Regions from separate parts of the Homo sapiens genome. Here all the other regions are linked to region 1. The links are contacts of gene promoters, found by promoter capture Hi-C in blood cells and fetal thymus (Javierre and others, 2016). All regions are on one chromosome and are shown on one strand. Each heading gives the region's core, a stretch centred on a gene start or on the middle of the fragment in contact. The rest is flanking DNA. Distances are from core to core; before and after follow the strand shown. Region 1 holds the start of CBR4 (carbonyl reductase 4). Region 2 overlaps NAF1 (nuclear assembly factor 1 ribonucleoprotein). Region 3 holds the start of AGA (aspartylglucosaminidase). Region 4 holds the start of SPATA4 (spermatogenesis associated 4).

Region 1 (3,175 bases), core at 202-2,701:
AGCTTCAAGAAGCATTCACTGACACTCTCCCTGACCTATAACTTACAGAATCTTTTTTCTTTTAGAGAGCCCAATAGTCTCCCAACCAGCACTGAACAGGTGATACCAAACCGATCAATAATGTTAACTTAAAAATGAACAGCCACACCTGGCGTCTATAGTCCCAGGTCCTTGGGAGACTGAGGCGAGAAGATCTCTAGAGCCAGTAAATCAGGAGTTGGGGTCCAGCACGGGCAACATAATGGGAAGCCCTCTCAAAAAAAAAAAAAAAAAACCAGATACACAAAAACAGTAAGAGCCACAAGACGCACCCCTAGGCCTCTATTCTCCCCATGCCTCCCTGATAGTAAATGAAGTATAATTTTGTCCATTCTGGTGATTAAACAAATAGCATCTTCGGATCTAACGTCCTATTTCTCCCTAAACTCAATGAAGAGTTATATTCACAAAATGACTAATCCATTCATAATAAGCCGGAAATAAAAAACCCTGAAGTTTAAATGCAATAAAAAAGAATTTGGCAGAACAAAGTTCAATTGTCCATTTGCAAAACTCACCAAAACAATTTAATAACATTAAAGCAAACCAGGTATATCTCAAAACTGGCTGGTACTCAAAAGGGTTTCTCTATCAAACACTGCTTTGTGCATTCGCGCAGGGCCAAGGCACGGCCCTTGGGCAAAACTGAAGGGAGCCGTTGGTACCTGCACTCCCACCTTTCCTGCCTGAACTCCTTTCGACCCAGCCCTGTCTCCGGGGGCCGAGAACTCGCCCTTTTCCCTACATTAAAAGTAAACTGTTACGTGGCTCTCTCCCACAACAGGGAAGCTCCTCAGCGTTAGCACTAGCCGCAGGGCGGAGGGTGCGTATAGCGGGGCCTCAAAAGACTACGAGGTCTCAAAGAACACCCCAAGTGTTCAGCCCTCGGCGGCAAGCTGCGTGGCCGGCATTCTGCGAGGCATAGGGAGATCGCGGGTTTCTGCACGAGACGCATTCTACCCTTGGAACGGGAGAGCGCCTGCACGCGGCTACATCGAGTAACCCTAGAGCCCTAAAGGCCAGACCCGCTCTTTTTACAAAGGAGATTTTCTTTAGGCGCCTGGACCGCGGCCATACAACTGGACAACTCCAGTTTGGTACCTACCGCCGAGGTCACCGGCGGCGGCTTTGGCCCCTTCCAGGTTTCTGGCAATGACCGCCAGTCGGTAGCCTTTCCGGGCCATTAACTGGGCCACAGCTCTGCCAATGCCTCGGGAGCCTCCAAAAACAGCACACACTTTGTCCATCTCGGAGTCACAAACTCGGAGGAAAGAGGGTAGGGAGTGGGAGCCCCTCTCCAGGTTCCCTCAGGCTTTTAAACAACCGCGGTTCCAAAAAAAAAAAAAAGAAAAAAAAAGGCAAACCGCAAAAAAAAATAACGCCGCTCGACACCTCCTGCAGCCGCACAATAGTAATGCAAGACGCCGTGAAAAGGAGGAAGAGCTCGACGTCGCCGCGTCGACGTCATCACGCACGGACTCTTCCGCGCCACACCTAACAAATACGCCGACGAGAGCTCCCCGCCGGCGGAAGAATGGCCTGGAGAGGGCCTCGATGCTTGCTGGGACCTGTAGTCTTGACGCATGAGAGCAACTGGCGCAGGCGCGCTGCTCGGTGGGGAATGTACTTGTGGCACTGAGGGGGATCCTCTGTCCCCGCTGGGTCATATCAGTCGGGATTCGAGCCCCGGTGACCAATCGACCCGGTTTGTTCGGAACTGACAGGGTTGTCAAGACGCTGGGCTTTCCCTGGCAAACCAAGACGACCTGATCACGTAGTTAGAACCCAGAGAAAGCATTACTGGGCGTGAGCCGGTCGGGGCTCCGGTATTTGCCCTTCGCCCAGGTGTTGTTTTGGCTACAGACTTGATGTCCTACCTGTTGAAGAAGTCCCCAAGAATCGCACCCACACCAAAACCTACCCTACCTGTTCCTCCCCCAGGTTGCTGTAGAAATGGACCTCTACCCGCCCAGATGTTACCATTCATCGCGAAGGGTGTCGTGAAGATGAATGCCCTGTCGAACATCATCCAGCAGGAGGTCAAGGAATTTTAACTGAATGATTGAATAGTCTTGCAAGATCTATGAAACAAGCTTCGGCTGCTGTAGAGAAACAAAAATGGGTTCCTGCAATTCTAAATAAGATGTACTGGGTGCTCTGAGAGTTAATAAGCTAAAAAATTCAATGTTTGTTACAATTATAGTGTAAACAGAAAGCATTTCTGATACAATATTATTTTACTAGATTCAGAAAAGTATGAGCCATGGTCCCTACCACTAAAAAAACTACAACCCAGAACTACAGGACTAATACACATGAAACACTAGGAGGTATCCAAAATCATACTTAGTAAAATGCAAAATTATATTAACACAAGAGCTCCGAGAAAATGGAGATCAGTGAAGAATGAAGGGGTGCATGGAAAAGCTGGATTTGAGGGCTGGATGAGGTTTGAAAAAAGGAAAACAAGAGCAAAAAGTCTATAAATAAGCAAGTTGAGCATTAATTTAAATTTGTTATTCCTATTCCATTTAGATCCAAAAAAAGATTTGAAATGGTTTGCAAAAATACATGAGTATTTGAATTTAAAAGGCAAAGAGGACCACTGCCCCTTCTCCCACAAGGCCAGAACAATAAATTAGGTCAGTGGAAAAAATACGAATAAAGTCATGCTATAAGAATCTATTTAGTATTAAAGAAGAGATTCATAAACTTAGAGTTTCCTGCCAGCGAAAGCAACAAAGGAAATATAATTACAAGTGGTAATTTCTGTAAGAAATCAGCCTCCTGGTTATGCAGCAGAGAAGCCTGAGCAAAACTCCCTCCTCATAGGTCCTCCTAAATGGCACACTAAGCATTGTAGTAGACAGTGAGCTTCATGAAAAGAAAAAGAGATTGTAAGGCTGTTTTCATAGCATCTATTAGACTTTATTAAAAGCAAATACAATAGGAAGTTAAACAATATAAGCAAACAGTCACACATAAAAATTGTGTCTTTGAAACAATATATGTTTGAAACAATGAGGAAACAAGCCTGAGGAAATTTGGGATGGTGCTATATTATAGTCAGCTTTAAAGTCAGGTGCCAAGCATTAAACAGGCCTTTAACTGCAGAAGTAATAAGATAAGAGCTGCA
Region 2 (2,944 bases), core at 351-2,850, 5.9 Mb before region 1:
TTTACATTCTCACACATCAAAAAAGCCCTCCATTACAAAACATATTCCCAGGCATTAACAATATCAATTTATTTCTGGCCATTAACACAGGTATAATTTTAAGACCACATTTTAACAGCATGCACCATATTACTAATGAAGTCTTAATGCTAACCTGAATACTCTACTTGGAAATGGAGATTTGTGATAAATCTATATTTTAATTTCATTGTTTCCCAAAATTAAAATGCAACTAAAAGCCTGTTCTGGATGTACATTATCTGCCATTAGAAATAACTATTTTATCATACAAATGAAATTTTTGTAAATGTTTACTAACAAAAAATCAAAGAACAGCAAAAAGTTTTTCTGGACTCATTTATTCAATACTTCTACACATAACAAAGAGTAGGAAAGGAAAGGAAGAAAACTATTTCATTCACATCATTAGCAAATGAAAAGCTTGCATGGAAATAAACATCCCCAAACACCACAGCATTTCGCAAATGAACTACTAAAATTCAACATACTAAAGAAGCTCCACCATTTATTTCCCACACACTACACAGTTCCAAGTCAAAAGCTTTATTGAGAGGCAATATAATCCAAGCAAATACAATTTTAAAAAGCTTACATTAGATGATACATTCATCCTTCACTTTGAGAAAATATGCTACATGATTATTCAGAAACCAAATAATGAGAAAGTCCAAACGACCAGATTCCAACGTTGCTATGCAGGTCTCCACAAATACTAAAAACACAGCAGTTTGGAATGTATCTATTACCAGTTCAGATCTGCTCCTCCCCACTAATATGACTTCAGACAAGTCTCTTTCTTTCTGGTTTCATTTTTCTTACCTACGAATAGTAAGGAAACTGAGCACAAGTTCTAAACAGTTACACAAATGGCTAACGACAATTTAAATGTCCAACTGCATGTAATCAAAAAGACAACACATTAATACAGAAATTATATACTAGATCCCAATAAAAAAATTACTGTGCTTCTGTGATAACAGATACTCGTAACGATGGCATTAAAGAAATGCAAGATCCTAACCACACTTCTGGAATATCCATGAAAGAGCAATTATTGTCTGTTTTGTAAGATTATTATATTTTAATTTTCTAACATCTGTATGGTCTACAAGGTTATTCAGTTAAGCAAAATATTCAAAAGAGTACCACATAACATTAAAAATCCATCCTATTAAAAATGAGGTTATAGACATACCAGTCAAAAAATGGGTGCCTAAAACTTTCAATGCAAAAATGGAAGAAGCTAATATGTCAAAAGTGGCCCTCTGAAAAGGTAACATTTATAATTTACAACACTGTTGACTTTTCAAGCATTTGTGAAGGCTTATTGAGCAAAAAAGAGTATCAGTAAATTGATGACTTTCTAAAGTAAAATTATATAAAGAACTTTCAGTAGGATTTTCACTCACAAATATGGAAAAAGGACAACAGAGGTTGGTGGGAGAAGGAATCAAACATTCCAAATGAAAACTAAACCTTTTTGGTGTCAGTTTGGGGAGAATTGAGAAAAGTGAGGAAGGTGGGATGAAATTATCTAACCACTTTTCTCATATTACCCAACACAGGACATGCACGTGGCAGCCAATTACCTGATGCTATTAGGTGAGCCTTCACTTTTCAGATATGGTTGGAAAGTAGGATCCAATCCCTGGAGTACTGAGAGCCATGACTGAATTTTTTTTTTCTCTATAGCTGGTAAAACATATTGGAAAAAGAATGGATTAGGTCTGTACACTTTGTGTCAACTATGACCATACTTAACATGTATTCTAATTCATTAACTTCTTCAGGGGAAGTAATTTTACAAGTTTCCATGAAACTCAGCTATTTATCACCAGTAAGCATTAGTCCCCTCATTAATTACCCTATTGTGTATGACACTAAACTTAAGACTCAGACAAGTCAATTAAAAAATGAGGGTCAACATTTCTTTGAAGTGTCTTGATATTTTTCTTTTTTAAATGAATACATTATTATCCTGTTTTTCTCTAAAATTACTGTTAAGAGAAACAAAGTTCATAATACTTTCAAAATTTAATTTGCTTAAATATAAAACTATAGTCCATCTCAATAAGAAACCTCCAACAATGAATATAACTTTAAGCCTATCTTTCATGTTAATTGAGTGCATATTTCATCAACTTTAAGACACTGATTTTATATCACTAAGATAAAAAGACTGCCAAATAATTGTAAAATGCCACAGAGTATTAGCCTAAATTTTTCAGAAATCCTTATTACCTCCCCTTCCACTCAATCCTATCACTTCTTATGTGCAGTACACCATTCATCTGACATTCAACCATTAACTCTCTGGTGCTACTTTGCTTTCAGCTAAAGTGTATATGCTCATTCTCTAGTTCCATTGCTCTTTAACAGATATTTGTCTTTATCTTCTAAAGCAATCAGCAGAATTCACTTATTAGAAACTACTGAGGAATGGGGGAATCTAAACAATTGAATGTTTCTGTGTAATAATAATTATATATGTATATACACAGGACATAAATGGATACTCTACTGAATAAAACAGTATTTATTTCATGTTTATGAAATCATTCATGCCTCATGTAAGCTTTATTGAAATATTCTGTAAGATATAAAACTTTAATTTAAAAAACCCTGAGTATTAATTATTTTTGAAGAACACTAGTGAATATTAATGAAAAATGATCTTAAGTATACAAACCATTGCTTAAATAACAAGCACTTTGGGAAGAATGTTAATAAGTGCTATCAAAGTGTATTCTAAAATAGAATTTAATAGTTCCAAATATACATATAGTAATAAAAACCTAAGTTAAAAGAGGCCTGCATTCAGGACAAAATTTATAAACCAACTTATGCCTAGAAAACAATATATTCAATTGATAATTACTAAGTGTAGACCAAGATGCAATACAATTTCATATATGATGGGAGA
Region 3 (3,193 bases), core at 1-2,500, 8.4 Mb after region 1:
TTTACGCAAGTTCCCTCTTTCAATACAGGCAACTTAAACACAGAACTGTCCCCCGCCCAGGCTGATGCAATTTCTTTTCGTCTCATTATGGCTGGGAATATCTTTCTCACAGCCTGCTTCTTCATTTTCTCTGAATCGTATGCACTGCCACCAAATTCTGGAGCCAATTCTGCCCTAGAAAGTTAATACGTTAGCAACCTCAGATGGAGGAGGAGGGGTCTGAAAATGACTCTTCTGGTCATTAAGCAAATGAAAGAAACAAGCATAGTACAATGCGAAAATGCCAAGATAATGGTACGTAAAGGCTATTAACAAGGTGTAGAAGGCAGGAACCTAACTCATTCTGGACACGAGGGCAGTTAAGTCAGGGAACGCTTCCTGGAAGAGGTGATACCTTAGCTTAGTGGTTCTCAACCCTGTCTGCAAATCGAAATCACCTAGGGAGCTTTTTAAAGAAAAACAGTGGCCCTGATTCCAGCAGTTAGATCACAGTCACAGGAGGTGGGCCCCGGCAGGATGATTTTTGAGAAGCTCCCCAGATAGTGTGAATGTACAGCAAAGGTTGGAACCTTGAATTCTAAGTGGCAGGTAAAGTATGACAACACGTGGCAAAAAAAGTAAATGGGAAAAGAGTAGGCTATGGCTGGGACACTATTAGTCGTCTACAAAATTGCAAAGAAGTGAAGGATTAGAAACGAGAGGTGGAGACGTACACAGCCCGTGAAAAGACTGTCAGGCAGAAAAGCGTAGCTGCTACTTGATTAAAGCACAAAGGCCATAACTATGGTCAGCAGCAGGGTGGAAAATACATTGCGCTGGGGGCTGCATGAAGGGAGGACCTAAAATGCAACAGCGGTAGGTGGGGAGGATGCAGTAAAGGCCACTTGCAAGAGACTGAGCGGCGCTGGAGACTCGGGAAGACCTAGAGGGCGGGACCGCGAGGCCCGGCCCAGCCCGGCGCTCTTCCGTCCGCCCTGCCGGGTGACTGCAGCGGGGCGGGCTAGTCATCCCCACCCGCAAGCTCTCGCGGCGCAGCCGCCCGCCCAGGCCGCCAACCCGCACCTGCTTCGGTTGCATTCTTAAAGGGCCAAGTGTTGACGACCAGGGGCAGAGGGCTGGAGCAGCGCACTAGGGCCTGGCAGAGCAGAAACGGCACGAGAAGCACAGGCAAGTTCGACTTCCGCGCCATCCCTGACCACCGAAGAGACCAGCGCGAGAAAAGTCCCGGCAGCCAGCGATCGCCGAACAATTAATCCCCAGTGCCCCGCCCGCCTGGCGCCCACGCCCGCTCTCTCGGGGGTTCGCTCAGGCGTCCCTCAACTCTCGCGAGACGAGGCGTCCCTGGGCCCGCGGGAGAGTTGTGTCACGGGGCACTGAGCTGTTCCCTGCGCTAAGGTGCTTCTTCCTAAGTGCTGTTCAGATTTTTAAAATAGCCAGACAAGTTGCTGCTTTTCCTGTGGTTAAAATAGATTTAGCTTGATATTGGGAATTTAATACAAAATTATTCAACTCTGGGTTGCAGGGCCCCAGGAACTTTAGCCGATTGCTGTGTACTATGGATTTGGTTCTTTTACTGTCTTTTTAATTTAAAGTTGAAGTTGAAAAGTTTGTCAAACTCAGTATATTCTTGGGGATCCCAGGCCTCGGAGGTCTGCAATAGTTATGAGTGTAGGTGAAGCGTGTTTGCTTAGGACCGGATTGATTTTAGATTTTTTTTCCATTCATAGCGTCCGTCATTTTCGCACCACAGCTTTTTGTAGCACTTCCTCTCATTATAAATCCCTGAGCTGGAAGAAAAACAGAAACGGCCTATGTACCCTCTACCTAGCACACTGAAGTGCAGCTTCCTGCACCTCCAGGGCAAGACGGCTACCTCCATTCCTTTTTAAATGTATTTTTACCTTCCTGCCTGGCACTATTAAGTGCTAAATAAATGAATAAGAGGAGGAATGGGGATTTTACGTGCTTGGTGGAGGCTGCTCAGTTTTGTTGCTGGGCAGACGTGCGAACATGAACTAATAATCCCTTTGGGTGTCTGGAATGCCTGCCCAGGTTGCCAAGGCAAGACACATAATCACATAATTTTTAAAAGCATCTATAAATCTATACAAACTTTAAAAATATGAACTAGGCTGGGCACGATGGCTCACGCCTGTAATCCCAACACTTTGGGATGCTGAGGTGGGTGGATCACGAGGTCAGGAGTTCGAGACCAGCCTGGCCAACATAGTGAAACCCGTCTCTACTAAAAATACAAAAATTAGCCGGGCGTGGTGGTGCATGCCTGTAGTCCCAACTACTTGGGAGGCTGAGGCAGAATTGCTTGAAGCCGGGAGGTGGAGATTGTGGTGAGCCGAGATCGCACCACTTCACTCCAGCCTGGACAACAGAGTGAGATTCTGTCTCAAAAATAAATAAATAAATAAATGTAAAAATATAAACTAGGTAGGAGTTGTGAGACTTACAAAACCTTCAAGGCTCTTATTGATTGCTAGGAAATTAAATACATAATTTAAAGAACATAAGATAGCCCAGAAGTATCATTATCCCGTTGGGGAAGTGTTAATTAAAAGATATAATAAAGACAAATTTTCTAAGTTCCTTTCATGGGGTTTGGAAGAGGAACAAGTCATCTGTGCTGGAGTAATCATAACCCAATGGCAGGTGAAACTGGAAACTTGGGTGAAACAGGGTAAGAAAGCCAGAAAAACATACATTGTCCTCTGAGTAAATTTTCCTTAGCTCCTGGGCTGAGTATTTTTATGCAGCCTTAAGGAATTAGGACATGCCTTTAGCAAAAATTGTAAAATACAATACATGGAAAATTGGTCTTAGTACCCCACTGATCTCTCTAGCCTCTTCCTGTTTTTTAAGGTATTTGTGTTTCTTCTGGTGGAAAGAGCCTGATCTGTTACCTCCTACTATGTCTATTTCTCCAAATTCTTTCTTCTTAAATAAAAATTCCTGTCAGAGAAACAGCTAAATTACACTATAGTGGGAATGGCTGATAGAAGGTCTCAATATATCAACTTTTCCATGGATATTTGTATGTATGTATGTATGTATGTATTTATTTTTTGAGATGGAGTCTTGCTCTATCGCCCAGGCTGGAGTTCACTGGTGTAATCTCAGCTCACTGCAACCTCCACCTCCTGCATTCAAGCGATTCTCTTGCCCCAGCCTCCTGAGTAGC
Region 4 (2,929 bases), core at 403-2,902, 7.2 Mb after region 1:
TGCAGTTTCAGTTACCTTGGGTCAATCACAGTCGGAAAATATTAAATGGAAAATTCAAGAAATAATTTGTAACTTTTAAATTGTACTCTGTTCTGGGCAGTCTGATGAAACCTCCCTGCCTGCTCTGTGTTGCCTAGGATGTGAGTCCTCCCTTTGTCCAGAGTCTCCACGTTGTAGACATCAGTCACCTTTTAGTCATCAGATCAACTGTACAGTGTGGTGCGCTTGTGTGCAAAGTGCAAGAGCAGTGATGCTGGTGATTCAGATATGCCAGAGAGAAACCATAAAATTATTCCTTTAGGTGAAAAGATGAAAGTTCTTGACTTAATAGAAAGTTGTAAGAATGGTTACAATGGTAGGAATGAATCATATTCCTGAAATATGAAGAAAAAGAAATTCTTGATAGTTTCGGCATCACACCTCAAACTGAAAAACTTTCAGCCACAGTGTGTGATAAGTGCTTAGTTAAGATTTTTAAAAAGGCATTAAATTTGTGGATGGAAGACATAAACAGAAATGTGTTCTGACAGAGGGTTCTGTAGTATCCACAGTTGCCATCCACTGGGGATCTTGGAACCTATGCCTCTCTGATAAGGAGAGACTACTTTAAACCAGAGTTCTGCAAAAGATTCATTGCCTTTTTATAGAATTTAGTTTGCATTCCCAGAGCAAATATTAGCTGCCAGTTACATACAAAGTGCCTACAATTAAGCAGCAACTTTAAAAACTTGTTGGTAACTCTCAAACTAGATGCCATCTCCGACAAAGGGTAAACTGATCCTTACCAGTATTTTTTTTTTTTTTTTTTTTTTTTTTTTTTGAGACAGAGTCTTACCCTGCCACCTAGGCTGGAGTGCAGCGGCATAATCTCGACTCACAGCAACCTCCGCCTCCCGGGTTCAAGCATTCTCCTGCCTGCAGCCTCCCCAGTAGCTGGGATTACAGGCACCCGCCACCACACTGGGCTAATTTTTTGTATTTTTTAGTAGAGACGGGGTTTCACCGTGTTGGTCAGGCTGTTACTCAACTCCTGACCTCAGGTGATCCGCCTGCCTCGGCTCCCAAAATGCTGGGATTACAGGCATGAGCAACTGTGCCCGGCCGTCCTTACCAGTATTAATGCCCAATATCACTAAAGAAAAAGCTTTGACTATTTTAATATTTTTGTAGTCACCAAAGCATTCTATATTGTCCACAATTTAATGATTGGTTGATTAATTGAATAAACAAGATGTATCGTGGTATTTTGTTAAAGCCTTGTTCCCTAATAGTGTTTTCGTGTGTGTACGTGGGTGGGGGGGTCTTGATTTGAAACATAAGCCAGGCCAGGGTAGGCAATCTGAGGCCTGGCAGGCGGCGGAAAGCAGGCGGGGCGCCCACCGGGGGGGCCTAGGACTGGCTTACTCAAGCACCTGTTGATGTTCCTGGGGAAGAAGCTGAGATCCAGACCCTGAAGCCAACGCAGAACGGAACGAGACAAGCGGGAGCTCTTCGGCGCATGCGGATAGACCAGACACTTCTTAGGCCTCCCTCGGATGGGAGCTGCTAGCTGTGGCGAAAGTGACGGTGACTTGTCTAGGGCTGCCGCAGTCTGTGTCAAATACCCTTTTTCCTGGCCGGCGGCAGCCATGACGCTTTCTGGGTTGCTGCGGCAACAGCAGAAGGCGGGGCTGGGCCTTATTGCTGGCGGCGCGGTCTCGTGGGGCGGGGCGGAGTCTTATGGGGCGAGACCTCAGCGCCTGCGCAAGCGCCGCAGCAGCCGCCCGTACTTCCGCTTTACTCAGATTTTGGACCGCGGGGCCGGGTATCGAGGGAGGCAAAGCTGGGGTCCCAGTGGTGTGGCTGCGGTCTGGGGAGCGCTTTCAGTCTCAGATTTAGTTGGCCTCACTGTTAACCTATTTAGAGCTTTTTTTTTCTTATGTCATCGTTCATAAGTTTTGTATTTTAAATATTGTTGGTTTCTGCCCAGCCAAAGGCCTATTTTCAGTCGTCTAGTTTGAGGAGTGGTGTGAGAAGACTCCAGAGGCCAAGGACAGTTTTTGTTTGGGAATTGGAAGAGATGGGGGAAAAAAATCTTTGAAATGGAAATGAATGTCCACAAAATTTAACATAACTATTTCCTTAATTATTGCATTAAGTATTTGTAAACATTAATATTTGAAAACGATGTGTAGGTTAGATTTTCACACTTAATTAAAATCTCCTAGTAGGCATAATTCCTTCATTAATTCAACAAATATGTATTGAGTCCATATTATGTGCCACGCATTCATCTAGTCACTTGGGATCTATCTGAACACAATGAAAACAACTGCAAAGTTGGCATAGGCAATTATAAATATGTAAGCTTAATTATTAAAATCCATTAAAAATTTTTACAGCCACAGTTTTTTGTTTTTTGTTTTTTGTTTTTTGTTTTTTTTTGCTTGGCAGGGCACAGTGGGTCATGCCTGTAATCCCAGCACTTTGGGTGGTGGAGGCGGGAGGATCGTTTGAGCTCAGGAGTTCAAGACCAGCCTGGGCAACACAAGGTGGAGAGACTTTCGCTACAAAACAAACAAACAAACAAAATAGCTGGGTGTGGTGGTGCACACCTGTACTCTCAAGTACTCCAGATGCTGAGGTGGGAGGATTGCTTGAGCTCAGGAACTTGAGGCTGCAGAGAGCCAGGTGACAGGCCCTGTGGATACATACACATGGTAAAATATGGGATAGATCTTGATAATGATACTATGTAATATTTTTAATGTTTATTCATATACATGCTTATTAATAAAGTAAACCAGTGTATTCTGTATGTGGTTAAAAAAGAAAACCAAAACTGAAGCTATGTAAGTGTTTTCTGTTAGGCTAAAAAAGTTTTAATGAATGATTCATTCATTCTGTAAACCTTTTCTGAGGAACTATCCTGGAGTATGTGCTAGATCTT

Evidence for each region. The method cuts DNA at HindIII sites, captures the fragments that hold promoters and counts their contacts. A CHiCAGO score of 5 or more calls a contact.
Region 2: a fragment that was not itself captured here is called in contact with the fragment with the promoter of CBR4 in region 1 in 1 of 17 cell types (naive CD8 T cells); the score reaches 5.1 in naive CD8 T cells.
Region 3: the fragment with the promoter of AGA here is called in contact with the fragment with the promoter of CBR4 in region 1 in 1 of 17 cell types (non-activated CD4 T cells); the score reaches 6.3 in non-activated CD4 T cells.
Region 4: a contact is called between the fragment with the promoter of SPATA4 here and the fragment with the promoter of CBR4 in region 1, in 5 of 17 cell types (total CD4 T cells, activated CD4 T cells, total CD8 T cells and 2 more). The highest score is 18.1, in total CD4 T cells.

The regions. Positions count from the first base shown.
Region 1 is chr4:169,008,804-169,011,978 of GRCh38, forward strand. It overlaps CBR4 (carbonyl reductase 4), which reads right to left and starts at 1,452. Exons shown (of 5, transcript NM_032783.5): 1 at 1,145-1,452. The coding sequence starts at 1,286. It overlaps CBR4-DT (CBR4 divergent transcript), which reads left to right and starts at 1,626. Exons shown (of 2, transcript NR_185919.1): 1 at 1,626-1,653; 2 at 1,981-2,257. RefSeq lists enhancers at 453-1,402, 1,502-1,831. The HindIII fragment of the contact is 6,180 bases long and covers 1-2,130 here.
Region 2 is chr4:163,156,615-163,159,558 of GRCh38, forward strand. All of the region lies in intron 2 of NAF1 (nuclear assembly factor 1 ribonucleoprotein), which reads right to left. Among named protein-coding and RNA genes, the nearest start is that of NAF1, 8.8 kb to the right of the region's middle. The HindIII fragment of the contact is 1,988 bases long and covers 607-2,594 here.
Region 3 is chr4:177,441,187-177,444,379 of GRCh38, forward strand. It overlaps AGA (aspartylglucosaminidase), which reads right to left and starts at 1,251. Exons shown (of 9, transcript NM_000027.4): 1 at 1,063-1,251. The coding sequence starts at 1,189. It also overlaps a transcript of AGA-DT not described here. RefSeq lists enhancers at 297-376, 1,203-1,746, 1,837-1,916. The HindIII fragment of the contact is 8,233 bases long and covers 1-3,193 here.
Region 4 is chr4:176,193,933-176,196,861 of GRCh38, forward strand. SPATA4 (spermatogenesis associated 4) reads right to left here and starts at 1,653. Exons shown (of 6, transcript NM_144644.4): 1 at 1,413-1,653. The coding sequence starts at 1,630. The HindIII fragment of the contact is 1,203 bases long and covers 1,143-2,345 here.